Linked DNA regions of Homo sapiens: region 2 is linked to region 1. The links are contacts of gene promoters, found by promoter capture Hi-C in blood cells and fetal thymus (Javierre and others, 2016). All regions are on one chromosome and are shown on one strand. The core of a region is centred on a gene start or on the middle of the fragment in contact, and the rest is flanking DNA. Distances in the headings are between cores, read along the strand shown.

Evidence for each region. The method cuts DNA at HindIII sites, captures the fragments that hold promoters and counts their contacts. A CHiCAGO score of 5 or more calls a contact.
Region 2: a contact is called between a fragment that was not itself captured here and the fragment with the promoter of PITPNB in region 1, in 5 of 17 cell types (total CD4 T cells, naive CD4 T cells, total CD8 T cells and 2 more). The highest score is 11.2, in total CD4 T cells.

Annotation. Positions count from the first base shown.
Region 1 is chr22:27,915,626-27,920,505 of GRCh38, reverse strand. PITPNB (phosphatidylinositol transfer protein beta) reads left to right here and starts at 1,250. Exons shown (of 12, transcript NM_012399.5): 1 at 1,250-1,334. The coding sequence starts at 1,315. TTC28-AS1 (TTC28 antisense RNA 1) reads right to left here and starts at 1,130. Exons shown (of 5, transcript NR_026963.1): 1 at 961-1,130. RefSeq lists enhancers at 730-909, 80-1,064, 1,065-2,050 and silencers at 1,220-1,289, 1,480-1,799. The HindIII fragment of the contact is 2,643 bases long and covers 1-2,451 here.
Region 2 is chr22:26,668,076-26,672,743 of GRCh38, reverse strand. MIAT (myocardial infarction associated transcript) reads right to left here. Exons shown (of 5, transcript NR_033320.3): 5 at 1-4,586. Among named protein-coding and RNA genes, the nearest start is that of MIATNB, 2.4 kb to the left of the region's middle. RefSeq lists enhancers at 3,585-4,167, 4,168-4,668. The HindIII fragment of the contact is 9,187 bases long and covers 1-4,668 here.

The sequences.
Region 1 (4,880 bases), core at 1-2,500:
ATTTTTTTGGAGGCAGCCCTAACTCCACAGATGTATTCCACTATCAGATACACCAGATGTTTATACAAAAATGTTTTCGTGATATTTTAATCGTCTTAATAGCCTTTCAACAGGTTCTCATGGTTCTTAGAAGACAAATTCTTTACTATGGCCTAGTAATCCAGTTGGTCCCAGCTCATTTCCCACCCTCACTTAGGATGTTCTGGCCACATCTGCCCTCTAGCTGATCCTTGAACACCCTAGGCTTACTCCATCCTCGGGTCATATTTCCCTCCAACTGGAATGCCCCTCTCACATCCTAACAGGCTAGGCTCAAACACCGCCTCCTAAGACAGCCCTTGTCTTGAGTCCTCTGCTTCTCCCAGTACTCCACTGTATTCATAGCATAGCACTTCCCCACCACCCCAAATTCTCCCTGCTTTCTTTCCAAGTGAGTTGTCTCCTCTAGACTGTGAGCTTCTTGAGAACAGGGACTGTGTCTGCTTCTAGATGCATCCCCACTGCCTAGAACCGTGTCTGACACAGAGCAAGCCAGCGACCTCCGGGCTGCGGCTTTGAGGCCCACGGCGCTTTCGGTGTAACTGCGCGAACCAACTCCTGAACAGCCCGCTTTCCTGGGTCTCGAGGCCAAGGGCCTCTTTTCTCCCAGAGGGCCTCCGTCGGGAGTGCTGGCCGCTCATCCTGCCGAGTCACAGGTGAGGTTTAGGATTCTCCGCCGCGGTGGACCTCCACGAGACCGCGAAGCAGGTGAACGTCCTCCCGCGGAACCTGAGCTGCCAAGGGCTGGGGAGGGGAACAGAAGCTGGCGTCGGCTGCCTCCAGAACCTGTCAGGAGTCTTTTATGTGGACTATGGAGGTGAGGTGTCGGTCAAGGAGGTGGGCCCTGACTCGGAGCAGTGAGAGAGAGCAGAAAACCAGTCACCGCAAAACGGCTTCCAAAGAACCAACTGGAAAACTCACCGGAAAGCGTAGGCTGCCCAGACGCCCCGAGGGACCAAAGCTGAAGGGAGGAGCCCTCGTAAGCAGACAAGAGTGCGCGCGTCGAGCTTGCGCAGCCGCAGTAGAAGCCGCACGCTCTTCGGCAGGCTGCGCAACCGCAGTGGAGGCCTCGTGTGCCCGGGGTGGGGCACGAAACTGGGCGGAGCTAGGCCCCCTCGCGCGCTGACGCGACTGGTCGCGGCGGAAGGGTGTAAGCACGCAGGCGCGATGGTGGCTCGGGGGGGCAGGGAGGCGGGGCCGCGCAGGCGCTGTGAGAGGCGGTAGCGGCGGCGGCGGCGGTGGTATCGGCGGCAGCTGTGAGGGGGTTCCGGGAAGATGGTGCTGATCAAGGAATTGTGAGTGGGTCTGTGGGCGCGAGCGAGGCCGTGGGACGGCAGTGATGGGAGATTTGTTGATGGAGAAGTGGTAGGATATTCCTAAATCGGAGTCAGCCCTGTGTCAGCCCCTCCCTGCGGGCGCCCCCTCCCTCCCCCGGCCCCTTCGAAGCCCCTCAGCGAGTGCGCCCCTCGGCCCTCCAGGCATTGCCGTGGTAACACGCCCTCTCCCTTCCCCGGGGCGAAGGCGGCTGGGTCCCGGCCCGAGCGCATGGCTCGGGAAGGCGCGGCCGGGAGTTTCCGCTGGGACCCGCCTTCTCCCCAACCCCCCACCCCCAGGCTGGGTCTGGGCCCACCCCCAGGCCCGCCGGTGGGAAGGAGCCGCAGTCCGAGGGTGGGAGAGACACGTTGGTTCTGACTGTGATTTGTCGTCCGGGGTGGAGTCCCCTGGTAACCAGCGGGAGATGGGCTTGCCGGTTGAAGGCAGCCCTCGTGTCAGGACTCGCGGTGGGACGCTGGCGCCTTGAAGTTCGTGGTGGAGCCGGGATTCCGGAAAGCCTCCGCTCTCCTGGGCAGCTCCGCTGACTTGACGGGAGAGCCTTTTCTCTTTTTGGTTTCCGCATGTTTTAAGATGAGGTGACATCCCGGGCCCCACCTACTTTCTTAGAAGTTAACACGTGCTCTGTCAAATGGAGGGATTTCGAGGTGCATCCGACTGGCCAAGTGATTTTGTTGAAAAGTCACGGCTTTTCCTACTGGCAAGGACTGTAAACATTACGGAAATCTGCTTGCCTCTGAATGTTCGTCTGTCACAGCTGGTTCGTGTCGTCAGCATCCTTTGGGCAGCTAGGGAGGTCGAGTATGGCCCATTCGTTGGTTTTCAAATTCTTCATTTTAAATTCTTAGAAATATTTTTGGCTTAATTTAGCTTTTTTCAGACACCTTATTTTTAGTGTTCTTAAACCTCCTTTAAAAAGTCACTGATGCACTTCTCTGAGACTTAATACCTCCCAAAGACTCCCTGTCTCACCCAGAATAAAAGTCAAAGCCTCTGCAACAGCTACAAGGCTTTACACTTTTTTTTCCTGCCCTGATCTCATTTACTACCTTTTCCTTGCCCATTCCATCTTCGCAAGCTTCCTTGCTGTTCCTCTGCTACTCTAGAATAAGTTCAGTTCAAGACCTTTCCACCTGCTTTTGTTCCCTTTGCTTGAAGTGTTCTTCCCTTGGCACACTAACTCACCTTCTTCCAGGTCTTTGCTCAGACGTCACCTTCTCAGGGAATCCCTTTCTGAAGACCTAATTGTAGTTCCCACTATTTGGGGTGGTATTTGTCTTCCCTGCTTTATCGGTCTCCATAGTACTTATCACCATCCAACATGCCAATACAATTTATTATTATTATTTTTCTCCTACTAGTTGTGTTCTCTTTTTACATGTAAGGGCCATGAGTTTGTTTTGCTCACTCTCATATCCCCAGTTTTTAGAATAGTCCCTCGCATGTAATAGGTGCTCAGTAAATATTTGTTAATGAATTGATGAAAAATGATAACTTTGGTCAGTGACAGGGATTTTGAGAAGAGACATTTTGCCTTTTTTTGGTAGAGTGAAAATTCTCAATTAAAGCTTATTTATAGTACTGAATATTGGGTTTATATAAAACTTTTCTTCCAAGTCGTTTATACAGTGTATCAAACAAGTGTTCATTACTCTGACTTCTAGATGATGTGGGTAGATGGGTGGCAGACACTAAAACAAATGGAGAAAATAAGAAGGAAATTGACTTGGACCAAGTTACACAGCAAGTGAGTTGCAGAACTGATTTTAAATAGATCCAGTCATTTTTCTTTCATTGGAGTATTTCCTCCCTCCAAAAGTGTTACAGACACACAGTATTCAGTAGATCCCTTTGACAGTATGTGAGTAGTATGAAGCTAACTCTTGGAAAGCAGTTCCTATTGGGAATTTGCGCACTGTGCTTTTTGCAAACATTTGCTTTCATTATGAAGATTTAAATGTACCCAGATAATGAATGTTGACACGTGCCCAAAGTCTAATTATTTTTCCCAAAGAGTTATAAATTAAGTTTCTTGATGTTAACTCTTCATGTGTATCTCCCCTAGATTTTTTTTCCTCCTAGACTTTTTGAAGGTAGAAGCTGTTTCTTAAGTAATGTCGGTATCTAGCACAGCATCTAGGCCTAACATGCTCTAAAGAATTCAGTGTTGTTCAATGAAAAATTGATACTTCTTACTCTCAAGTCAACTTTCTAAAATTCTTGTTGGTTAGGAGCAATGAATAGCTTATTCCTATGTGAAGATATTGGTAACTAAAATACTTTGGCAAATGTTTGTTGTCTTATAAAATTCTTTTTTATTTTTATGTTTTTTTTTTGAGGCGGAGTCTCTGTTGCCCAGGCTGGAGTGCAGTGGCATGATCTCTGCTCACTGCAACCTCCGCCTCCCAGGTTCAAGCGATTTTCCTGCCTCAGCCTCCCAAGTAGCTGGGACTACAGGCGCACGCCACCATGACCGGCTAAATTTTTTGTATTTTTAGTAGAGACAGGGTTTCACCCTGCTGGCCAGGCTGGTCTGGAACTCATGACCTCAGGTGATCCGCCCACTAAGTGCTGGGATTACAGGTGTGAGTCACCGCACCTGGCCCTCTATTTATTTTTTTATAAGAATTAAAATGTTAGAAATGACTTTCGAGGTGGGCTGTTTCCCTTCAAGTTATTATTTAAGCAGTAGATGAAGTTACCATTAATGTAAAGTCCTGGTTTTAAAGAACTAGTTACTGATTCCATTTGGAAATTATTTTTATGAGGATTTTCAGACATTTGAACATTTTCAACTGGCACTGAAAGTTGAATACTGCTTTTAGAATAACAACAGAAAATCAAAGCCTGTATGTTCCTTTTCCCTTTTACTTGTTAAGCAAATCTTGAAGAAGTTACTTGACTCATTGTTCTGAATGTCTTAATCAGTCACTTTAATTTTTTGAAAGAATTTCCTTGAAAGTGTTCTTAAATAAAAATAGGGATCTTCCTGTTAGTGAGTGTAAAATTACTCAGCAGTGATTCTTTGGTTTTGTGAAACTTAAGGGAAGACTAACTCTTCTTTCTCTATCCCTTCCTTCCATTCCCTCTGCAGTCCATCATCTTGGTTCAGGCCTTTGTGACAGTTCTTGCCTAGCCTCCCAAAAGATAGCTTTCCCCACTTCTCCTGCTTGTCAGTGTTTTCAACCACCTGCAGATGACTTCTTCAGGTCAGCAGTAGTTGTCACTTACCTCTTGGACCAACCTTTTGGGATTCCTTATTGCCTGATGAATTTAATGGATTTCTTACCATAGTATTCCAGGTCCTGATAATCTGCTCCCAACCTATAGCTTTCTAGTCTTCCTCTCCCTCATTTTATGCTCTGGGACAGTGAGCAAGTTAGTGTATACTGAGAAGAGAAATGATTCGGAATTTTTAGGTATAGAAGGACTTACAAAAAGTTTATTCTTGATGGAGAGTAGAAATTAGTGACCATTGTGGATTTGAGAGTGTTCATTGTTTTTGAATC
Region 2 (4,668 bases), core at 1,969-4,468, 1.2 Mb after region 1:
TTCCGGTGTGGGACACGCCCCTCTGCTAATTTCCGGTGAGGGGCACGCCCCCTCCTGCCTTCCTCGTGGGATACGCCCCCCTCGTGACTTCCTGTGCAGGACAGCTTCTATCCCCGTCACTTAACAATGGAGAGGATTCTTCCCCAGCTTCCTTCCAGAGGACACAAAAGCTCAGAGCTCCACAGTCTAGAGTCTAGACCAACAGGCCTCCACACTCACGTCCCAGAGATTTCCCTGGTCCCACCTACTCCCAGTGGCAACCAGACTTCTGCACATAGGAGAGATGTCATACTCAGAGTCCAGCCTCCCACATCCACAGGACCACCTCTTCCTCCTCTGAGTCTTGTTAATAGGGCCATCCCCTGCCTTAGACCTGGCCCAGTGGACTCTGATCTTACAGCCAATATGGGGCAGCAAAGTGGGACATCTGTCTACAGGGCCAGTAGCCCCAGGTCATCTGCTTGCCAAAAGGAGGGGGACCAGCCCCCGGGGGGAGCCCAGAGCTCGGCAGGGCTGGGGTTAGTAAGAAGAGAAAACAGGGTTAGTAGGGGCTGGGTTAGTAAGTCAGAGCACAGCACCAGCGGACAGGGCACCTCAGCAGACACACACAGGAGTCGCTAAGAGAAAAGGAAGAACGCACGCAGGTCCGTTAGTTTGTTAAGGGATGATCGGGGTGCAGTTGAGGCACCCCAGGGGTTAGACGGGTTAGTAATCGAACAAAAGAGCTGCCTACAGAAAAGAAAGCTGAGACGGAGGAAGAATGTGGGGAAGTGACATGGATTCAAAGCCAAGTGTCTTGCCCCAGGCAGAAGGATCTGTGTGCAGAACACCCAGAGAGGCCAGGGCCTAGGCAGCAGACGTGTTCAACCAGGTTTGAGGGGCCTTCCTCCATCCTCATACTTTTTTTTTTTTTAGGTGTCTGCCATGTGCTGAGACCCTTATATTGACGGGAATCCTCACTGCAACCTGTAAGGTATCAGAACTCGCATTCTACCACTGAGGAAACTGAGGTTGAGAGAAGTGAGGTGACTTACTCAAACTCACTCAACAGGAAGTGGCAGAGTTGGTGAGTCTTATTTGCATTCTCTGTCCTGGAACGTGGGTCTGCACAAAGATCCCAGCCCATAGGCAGAGCCTTCTGGAGCCTTGGCTGCCCCCATATCCCAGCCCCTTGAAAGGCCCATGAGCTGCACAGTTAGTAGGATCTGGCTGCGGGGGGGTGGTTAGTAGGGCATGCTCGGGCCTGGTTAGTGGGTTAGTTGGTTGGCAGAAGGCCAGGCACCTCGTCACACGCCACAGCGTCCCGGCTGAGCCCTGGGTTAGTAGGTTAATCACACCATGCAACACTGCCCCGGCCCCTCCAGCTGCAGCTTCAGAGGCCTCCCGCCCCCACCAGCCAGGGAGTGGGGCCTGACCAGGGCAGGGGGTCTAACTCTAAGCCCCCCAGCCCCATCAAAATCAACCCTAACCACATGGACCCTGCCCAAAAGCATGTTGCTTCCCTATTTATTGGCTGTGGGTCTCAGAGCACCCCCTGCAAATATTTCAGCTCCCCTGAAAATGGACCCTACTTGTCCTAGACAGAAACCCCCTGCCTGGTTCTGGTCAGCCCCTTCCCAGAGGGCTGGATCCTGTTACACTCTGACAGACACACGCACACCCGCATCTCTCCGCAAAAGATCTGACAACCGTGCTTAGTAGACATCTCTTCCATCACCGACTGTCAGGCCTCTAGTTTCTCCAACTATTGGCCTGCCCTCCCACCATTAGAAAAAAAAAAAACGCATCAAGCTGGCCTGGCTCCTGGAACCAAGTTGAGACTCCCCCACGCCCACCCGGTCTGCTTCCTTTTCAGCCAATGCTACAAAGCACCTAAGTGTACCCTAATTATGCCATCTTCTATCACTGCTGTACTTTTCCCATAGAAACCCCAGCCTAGCATCTCCCACAGTTCTAAACGATGTTCCATGAGAAAAAGATTCTACGGCCATAAAAGTCAAGGAACACTTCATCCTATGCCCTGTCCCTGAGTATTTGAAATTGCCATTAGCATTTTAAAGGTTCTGATAAGTCCTGCACTACTTCAGTAGTGCAGCGGAATTTGAATTAGAACCTGCTTTTTTTTTTTTTTTTTTTTTTTTAAGGAGCAATGACATTTCCTAGAAGTTACTTTAAGAATTTCCCTAGAGGGTCGGGTATCATCTCAGCCAGATCTTTCTCATCCTTCAAGGCCCTGTTTGGTACAGCTTGCTAGGAAGCTGTTCCAGACTGCAGCAGCCCTCTCTGGGGTCTCTCTACCACTTCCCAGGCACTCAGAACTTGTGCCTCAGTAGACTGTTTTGTGGCACTGTCCCATTCTCTGATTCTCCATGTGAGCTGGTTTTATCCCATCCAGCATGGCTGTGAAATCCTAAAGGTTCAAACCCCAGCCACTCTTCACCTATATTTCCCCCAAATGGCTAGCACGGGAAAGGGCCCAAAGTAGGTGCTCAGTGCTGATGAGAGAGTAGAATTTAAATACCCCAGGAAGCATTGTGAGTTACTACGGAGGCCATGAAATGCTGCCACCTCCCCAAGCTGATTAAAGAGTGATACTAGGAAAATAGGTAGGGAAGGGCTAATCAGAAATGCCTCTGGTTCAGAAGATGCTGAGTTTTAAAGTCCAGAGAGCCAAAAAAAAAAAAAAATAGATAAACCCTAAGTCTATACTCCCAGATGGATGGGAGCATTTGCTGAGCACCTACTGGGAGTCAGGCACTGTGCTAGGCACACAATCTCACTGAATTCTCCCTGCACCTGACAGGCAAGCACATTCCTTCCATTTCACAGAGCATCGGAGGCTCAGAGGTGAAGTAACTTGCCCAGGGTTGTAGCCCAGGCCCTTCTCAGGACACGGCTCTCCCAGGGCCTCCGCCTCCCTGCACTGAGCCCTGCCAGTTCCATATGTCCTCCGAAGCACTCCTGAGCCACCCCAGCATGGTACCTGCCACTCTCCGTGTCTGCTTCCCATACCTCTCTGCTCCTCCTCCCCATCCCTGGGTGGGGGCGGGAATTCTGAAGGGGAGAAGGCTCTGACTTTCCATGTTTGCGGTGACCACCCTGTTAAGAACTGAATGGTGTCCCCTCCCCCAAATGCATATGTTGAAGCAGTAGCCTGCTATGTGACTGTTTTTGGAGATGGGACCTTTAAGGGGTTAAGGTTAAATGAGGTCATAGGTTTAAGCCCTAATATGGTGATATTAGTGTCTTTATAAGAAGAGGAGGAGACACCAGAGCCTGCTCATGCTCTCTGTCCCTCTCCACAGAGAAAAGGCCATGTGAGGACATAGTGAGAAGGTGCCACCTGCAAGCCAAGGAGAGAGGCCTCACCAGAAACCAAGTCTTAACACCTTGATCTGGACTTTCCAGCCTCCAGAACTGGCAGAAAATAAATTCCTGATGTTTAAGCCATCCAGTCTGGCATGGTGCTGTGGCAGCCCAAGCTGATGAATAGTACACACCACTCCGCATTCTGGGAAAAAGGACATCTGGCTTTTAAACTTGCCTAAGGGAGGCCACAAGCTGCTCTCTTGCAAACGCTGGGACTGTCTCCTCTGGAGGGAGCTGGAATTGCAGATTGTGGGGCCTGTCCTGCCACCTTCTGTTCCCCAAGAACAGAATCCAGGAGCAGTGCAACTAGAAGCAGCGATCTGATTGGAGAAGAGTGTCCTGAGACTGGGCTAAGGTGACCCCTTAAGCCTTTGGGTAAGACTGGTTCCCTTTGGATGGCAGGAAAAAAAACCCAGGGCCACCTGTCTCTTTCTAGTGAATTTCCCTAGCCTAAATCTTATCTCTTAAAGACCCTCTCTTTTCAGGATGGTGCACTCTCAGCCCCTCTGGCTGCCCCTCCCAGAGTTCAACAGCACAGGGGGAAGGCTCCAGCTCCTCCCAGATCCTGACTGTCTCCTCTTTGTAACCATCAGGGAGAGGAAAAGCATGGAAAAGCCCCACCAAGGAAGTCCCCCACAAAATGACAATTACGCACTGAGCAAATGGAGACAAAGGACTCCAGCCAGCGGCACCCGAGGAGCTGCATCTGCCCTCTGCCTGACAGCCCCTCCCCGACTCCCATCCTTGTTCCTGTCCCCATCCTGTAGGGTCCTTTGAGACCCAGCCTTGGGGAAAGTGTGGTCAGTGGGGACTTGGCCCAGGCCAGGCTCTGTCTGGTCACCGGCAGAAACGCGAGGAGGAATCAAGTTCACATGGGGCAGGAAAGGGCCCCCAGACCCAGACAATAGGGCCCAGCAGGCAGGGCCCGAGCAGGTGAGGAGGGAGTAGTGGGCTGCCAGGCCTCCCTCATACCCCTGGAGCTGTCCTCCAGAGCCAGATCAGTCATCTGCTGAGCATCAACCAGGAAGAGTTCCTATCCATGGGAGGCTCCATCCCAACAGGTGTGAAGAGGATGAGATCTTCAGGGAGTCACCCAGCGGGCTAGAAAACCACCGGAGTCTGACCGCTAAGTCACTGTGGCCAGAATCCAAGGTCACCCGAGGTCCAAAGAGAAGTCCAGGCCAGGAGTCCTGGAGATGCGGCCCAGATGGAGCCACCTGGGGGAGAAGACAGCGAGTGAGGATGAGGCCACAGCCTCCATCCCCAACTTCCCACATCCCCCCAGCCTAATTCTGCATC